Regions from separate parts of the Homo sapiens genome. Here region 1 is linked to region 2. The links are contacts of gene promoters, found by promoter capture Hi-C in human tissues and cell types (Jung and others, 2019). All regions are on one chromosome and are shown on one strand. Each heading gives the region's core, a stretch centred on a gene start or on the middle of the fragment in contact. The rest is flanking DNA. Distances are from core to core; before and after follow the strand shown. Region 1 has its middle 14 kb from the start of OR10G7. Region 2 holds the start of OR10D3 (olfactory receptor family 10 subfamily D member 3).

Region 1 (2,700 bases), core at 147-2,646, 130 kb after region 2:
TGATCTGCCTGCCTCAGCCTCCCAAAGTGCTGGGATTACAGGCGTAGGCCACCATACCCAGCCAGATAATTTCTTGGTATCAGACTCAGACATATGTCATCCATCAAAATATAGACTCAAAAAAAGTTATAGAAATCAATGGAGCAAATTTAATGTACTAGATTTGCTGGCAAATTGAAGAATATTCTGTGTAAACCGAAAAGAAGCTCCTGAGAGAAGTATTTATGTTACCATTTAGACACTACAGAAGCAGCATTAGCACATGGTTAAGACGCTTTGGGTCACATTTTCGCCCAGCAAGTTTTTAACTCCATGACACTGCAGAAAGATCTCAGCCTCTCAGTGCCTTAATTTTCCCTCGTAAATCGAGATAATAGTATTATCTACTTCATATGATTATTATAATCATTACATGTATCAGTATTTGTAAATAGCGCCTGGTACTCAGTCATCAAACAAAATATAGGAGCTAATTGCCCCCAGATAAATTCAAGACAAAGCTGTAAAGACAGACCAGGATATAAAGCTTACCTTCCACAATTATGTACTCCTTGAATGAGCACCTTTCTCAGTGCCAGCTTTACACCTTTGTTTCTCAAAGTATATATCAAAGGATTCAGGGAAGGGATAACAATATTATTCAACACCTGAACCACAGAGTCCAGCCAAGGGCTGGAGGCAGGTCGGAGATAAATGAGGACTATTGGTCCATAGAAGAGCAGGATGGACGTCAGATGGGCACTGCAGGTTGAGAAGGCTCTGCGCCTACCTTCTGAGGAACTGATTTTCAGTATAGAGATAACAATGCAAGCATAAGAGGTGAGGATAAGAAGAAAACACATGAGCGCAACAACACCTACGTTGATGAAACTCACTGTCCGTGCTAGAGAGGTGTCTGCGCAGGCCAGGGGCAGCACCACCGGAATATCACAGAAAAAAATTGTCCACTTCATTGGGGCCACAGTAGGATAACTTAAAGATGAGGAGTGTGAGGACAGATGCATGCAGACAGCTCCCCGTCCAGGTGCCTAGCGTCAGGAGGGCACACACCCTGCGTTTCATGATGACCGTGTATGGCAAAGGGTGGCAGATGGCTGCAAATCGGTCATAGGCCATCACAGTGTACAGGAAACACTCGGTGCAACCCAGGAAATGGTGAAAGAAGAGCTGGGAGGCACAACCCTGGAAAGAGATGGTGCAGCTTTGTCCCACTAAGCAGAGCATCATTTTGGGGGAACTCACTGAAGGGAAAAATATGTCAAACACAGACAGGTTTCCCAGGAAGAAATACATGGGGGTGTGGAGGTTGGAGAAAGTGAGGACGGCCAGAAGAATGAGTAGGTTCCCCAGCAAGGTGAAGAGGTAGAAGGCCAGAAATAAGACAAAAAGCACATTTTCCATCCCCTTTGTATGAGGGATTCCCATCAGGGGGACCTCAGTTACTGGAGTGTGATTCTTTATCTTCATGTCAAATTAGTCCTGGAACATCAAACAATGGCCTCACTGAGATGAGTTTTTCCTGCAAAAAACTCTTTATAGAGCCTATCGCAAACTGATAATAAGTATATAGAGTGGAGAACTTCTAAATAAGACTCAGTTCAATCCTGTCATTAATTATTGAGTGACATTTGGGTAAGTTATTAATCTATTTTTCATCTGTTTCCTCATAAGTAAAATGAAGAGACAACACTAGAGTTGATATAGAAGAGAAGGTGTAGAATAAACTTTACAACTGGAAGTATCTGAGTTTACATACTAAACACGCTGCCCACTCTGACATCAGATGACCTTGAAAAAAACTCTTTAAATCTTTTCTGAATATATATAAATAGTAAAATAATATATTATGGTTCCTGTGTACATTAATGCATTGATGTCTGCAAAGTACCCATATAATTTTGGCTCCTACCCATCTTTGTTAAAAAATTTATTCATCAAATTATTTAATGTGTGCCTTATTCCACAGCATTTCTCTAAGTTGACTTGTAGCAGTTCTGAGATTACCCATTCATGTGACTGATCCGGGAGGCAGCTTTCTCAATCAGCAGCTAGAGTAACTGAAAACTGAGAATTGTCTAATGGGTGTAAAACAGAAAGGAAGCCTGGGCATGGCGGCTCACACCTGTAATCCCAGCAGCTTGGGAGGCCAAGGTGGCAGGATCACTTGAGCCCAGGGATTTGAGACTAGCCTAGGCAATACAGTGACGCCTTGTCTCTTCAAAAATTTAAAAAAAAAGGAAAAGAAAAAGAAAAAACTAGCTGAGTGTGGTGGTGTATGTCTGTAGTCCCAGCTACTTGGGAGGCTGAGGTGGGGAGATCCTTTAAGCTGAAAAGGCAGAGATTGCAGTGAGCCAAAATCATGCCACTGCACTCCAGCCTGGGTGACAGAGTGAGACCCTGTCCCAAAAATAACTTAAATAAAAATAAAGAAATAAAAGAATAGAAAAGATGATATGTAGGTAGGAAAAAGCAATAGATAATTACTGATATTAAAAACAGCCATTTCTTTTAATAGAGTTTAGTGTCCAATAGCAATTATATCTGTGACTTGACTGCAAATAATCATCATTTTTCCTAGAATTAGCTTTATAATTCCCCATTATCACTTTACATCTTATTCATTTCCTAAAATTTCTAAGGTTAAGCTTCATTAATCAGGTAATAGCTCAATAAAATACCATGGAGTCAACTAAGTCAGAT
Region 2 (3,064 bases), core at 565-3,064:
GTGATTTGCATCTAAGTTATGGAAAGGCTGCTTGTGATTCAAGTTACAAGGCATTATCCTTGGAATGTAACCGCCATAGCCAACTACATTTCTGTAGCAAATATTTTTGTTATACTTATTCGAAATACAAATGCCCATTATTAAAACAATATTCTGACCTTGTTAGAGCAAAGATTTTTAAAGAGAGGGCAGGATCCATCCAAACACATGCTCCTCCTCCCGGGGTAGAAGGATGTGAAATGTCAGGATTATTTGAGGGCTTTTTTATATCACTGGAGATATGAACCACAATTCGGGAATCATCATATTTGTAAGCCATTATTAGCAACAACGTTAGATTTTATGTCTACGTTTTTTAAGGGAATCATAAAGGTTGATCCCTGCTTTGCAGTTCAAAACACTTATACAACATGATCTCCGTTCATCTAATCCTGGCAGTCACTTTTTGAGGAGGTCTACAGAAAAGATTACATTTGAGCAGTAGGAAGGCTAGGTGACTCTCCTAAATTAAGGCAGCTAGTTCTTGGTAGAACTAGGCATCTACATTCTTTTTTTTTCTTTTTAAACATCAGTCTTTCCCCCGGGTCTGGATGGATCCATCTGTGATAGATCACGGCATTACTGGCCTTGTCAAATCTTACCCCGGTATTAACCATGTTTTTCATTTGGACATCACCAGGCTCTTAAAATGTTGTTCCTCCTCCTCCTTAGTAAGCAATGGAAAATCAATATATATCCAGCTACCTCCCCACACACACACAAATATAACATCTAGGAGAGTAAATATTTTTTGTGTTTACGATTATACTCTCAGTGCAAAGAACAGTGCCTTTTTCAATAAACGTTTGATGAAGGAAATAAGATAACTCACTCAATGCCTGGCAAGAATTGGATATCATTCCTCTTGTGCAAGGATCTGTGTGGTACTATCAGATAGTAATTTCTCCTCACAGTCTTCTAAAGCAACTTGATCATCTACCTGTTTCTCTTTTGCCCATTTCCTGTATATTTGGAATTTCTCTGTTTACAATCATGTCACCTGCACTCCAGAAGAAGCTCTACACTACATTCCAAAAAGCAATCAGACCCAAGACAAGTGCTACATATAATCTATACTGCTTCCAAAAATGTCCTGGCTGTCATACATCAAAGAAAGAATCAAATGAAGATATCCACATATGGGCTCATTTAGAGTTTCTGTTACTTTAATAATATAAAATCAAGTCCAAATTCCTGATTGTAAAGTGAAATAACAAGAATGGGGTTTGTGAGCTGATGGGCCAGCACAATGGGCTCAAAGATAAACCAAGCAAATAAGATCTATTCTTCTGGCCAGTAGATCCATGCTCTCTGTTCATTCTGAATTCTGAGAATACTTTGTAAACTGAGGACTCCAAATTTTCCTCTCCATTGGATACACAAAGCATAAAAGAGGAGTGAAAAAAGAGGTGAGGGCCCCTATAATTTCAGCTACTCTGGAGACTAAGGCAGGAGAATTGCTTGAACCCGGGAGGTGGAGGTTGCAGTGAGCTGAGATCGTGCCACTGCACTTCAGCCTGGCCAACAGAGTGAGACTCAGGGAGGGAGGGAGGGAGGGAAGGAGGGAAGGAGGGAAGGAGGCAGGGAGGGAGGGAGGGAAGGAAGGAAGGGGAAAGAAAGAAAAAAAAAGAAAGAGAAAAAAAGAGAAAGAAAGAGAAAGAGAGAGAAAGAGAGAGAGAAAGAGAGAGAGAAAGAAAGAGAGAGAAAGAGGCAAAGATGGCACTTATGTAACTTACAAAGAGAAAGTATGATCATTTAATCATCTGTTTGTATAGGATTTTTAGTCCAAATTTTCCTTTGGCATATTAGAGGTTAGGGATCTCCACCCATGATCTGGAATGCTTTCTTCTTAGCCAAATAAACTCTGACTAAATGACATGCAGCAGCGTGCGTCTCTGTCTTCTGCACAGACATCTTCCAAGACACTGATATCTACATTGCTTTCTCCTACGTGGAAATTTAAATATCTTTGGAGCCTTTGGGACCCCATTCCTGAATGAGTCCTATTCAAGGAGGTTGTTGAGCAAAGGGAGTAATTAGAAGTGAGTAAACTGTCTAGTTGAAATAGAATATGGTGATGTTTCCCACTGTGACAGTGCTGGATAGGAACAAGGGGGAGCCAAATCTCTATTTTCTACCTCTAAGATTGACCCTGGGAAAGGAGAAAAAAGGTGAATGGTATAGCCCAATCCTAGGACATATGTAGAAACCAGTTACCCAGTTTCAGGATACATTATCGGAATGAGAAATAACCTAACAACCATATATCTCAGACTTTTAAAAATATCCAATTTTAAATATTTTAATCTCAGTTTCTTCATAGTTCTTGCCATGAACTGAATTGTGTTCCTTCAAAAATTCGTGTTGAAACTCTTAACACACCCAATCCACGTAACTGTATTGGAAGTAGGGTCTTTAAGAAGGTGAATAAAGTTAAATGAGACCATAAGGATGAAGCCCTGATGCAATAGAACTGGTATCTTTGTAAAAGGAGAGACATCAGATCTCTCTCTCTGTCTCTTTCTCTCTCTCTCTCTGCCTGTCTTTTTCTCTCCCTTTATCTCTCCATGTGAGAACACAGCAAGAAGACAGCCCCATCTCTAAGCCCCAGAAACCAAACCCTGCTGCAAAACCTGTGCAACCTTGATCTTGAATTTTACAATCTGCAGAACTGCGAGAAAAAAAATTCCTGTTGTTTGTGTCACCTAGTATATTCTGTTTTGTTATGGCAGCCCTAGTGAACTAACATAGTTCTTCTACTTTTCAGACTATGGTTTCTAATATTTTGATATAGAAATAGAATTTCTTTTCCTAGACTCCAACAAACATTTGTCAATTGGCACAGCTGAATTTCCTGAACCAGAAATAGTTCTCCTGATGATATTCCCAGAATTATATCAAAGTATTATTCAACAAACATTAATTAATAACCTATACAACCAAGAATAAGACAAATTTCCTTAATCTTGACCTTCTCTTCTGTGAAAGGAGTCAAGAACCTTGCCCTTTGAGATTCCAGACATTT

The links. The method cuts DNA at HindIII sites, captures the fragments that hold promoters and counts their contacts. A contact is called where the count stands out against the background at its distance.
Region 1: a fragment that was not itself captured here is called in contact with the fragment with the promoter of OR10D3 in region 2 in 1 of the 25 tissues and cell types used here (pancreas).

Annotation. Positions count from the first base shown.
Region 1 is chr11:124,053,560-124,056,259 of GRCh38, reverse strand. It overlaps the pseudogene OR10D5P. Among named protein-coding and RNA genes, the nearest start is that of OR10G7, 14 kb to the right of the region's middle. The HindIII fragment of the contact is 4,298 bases long and covers 1-2,700 here.
Region 2 is chr11:124,182,095-124,185,158 of GRCh38, reverse strand. OR10D3 (olfactory receptor family 10 subfamily D member 3) reads right to left here and starts at 1,814. Exons shown (of 2, transcript NM_001355213.3): 1 at 1,776-1,814. The HindIII fragment of the contact is 12,854 bases long and covers 1-3,064 here.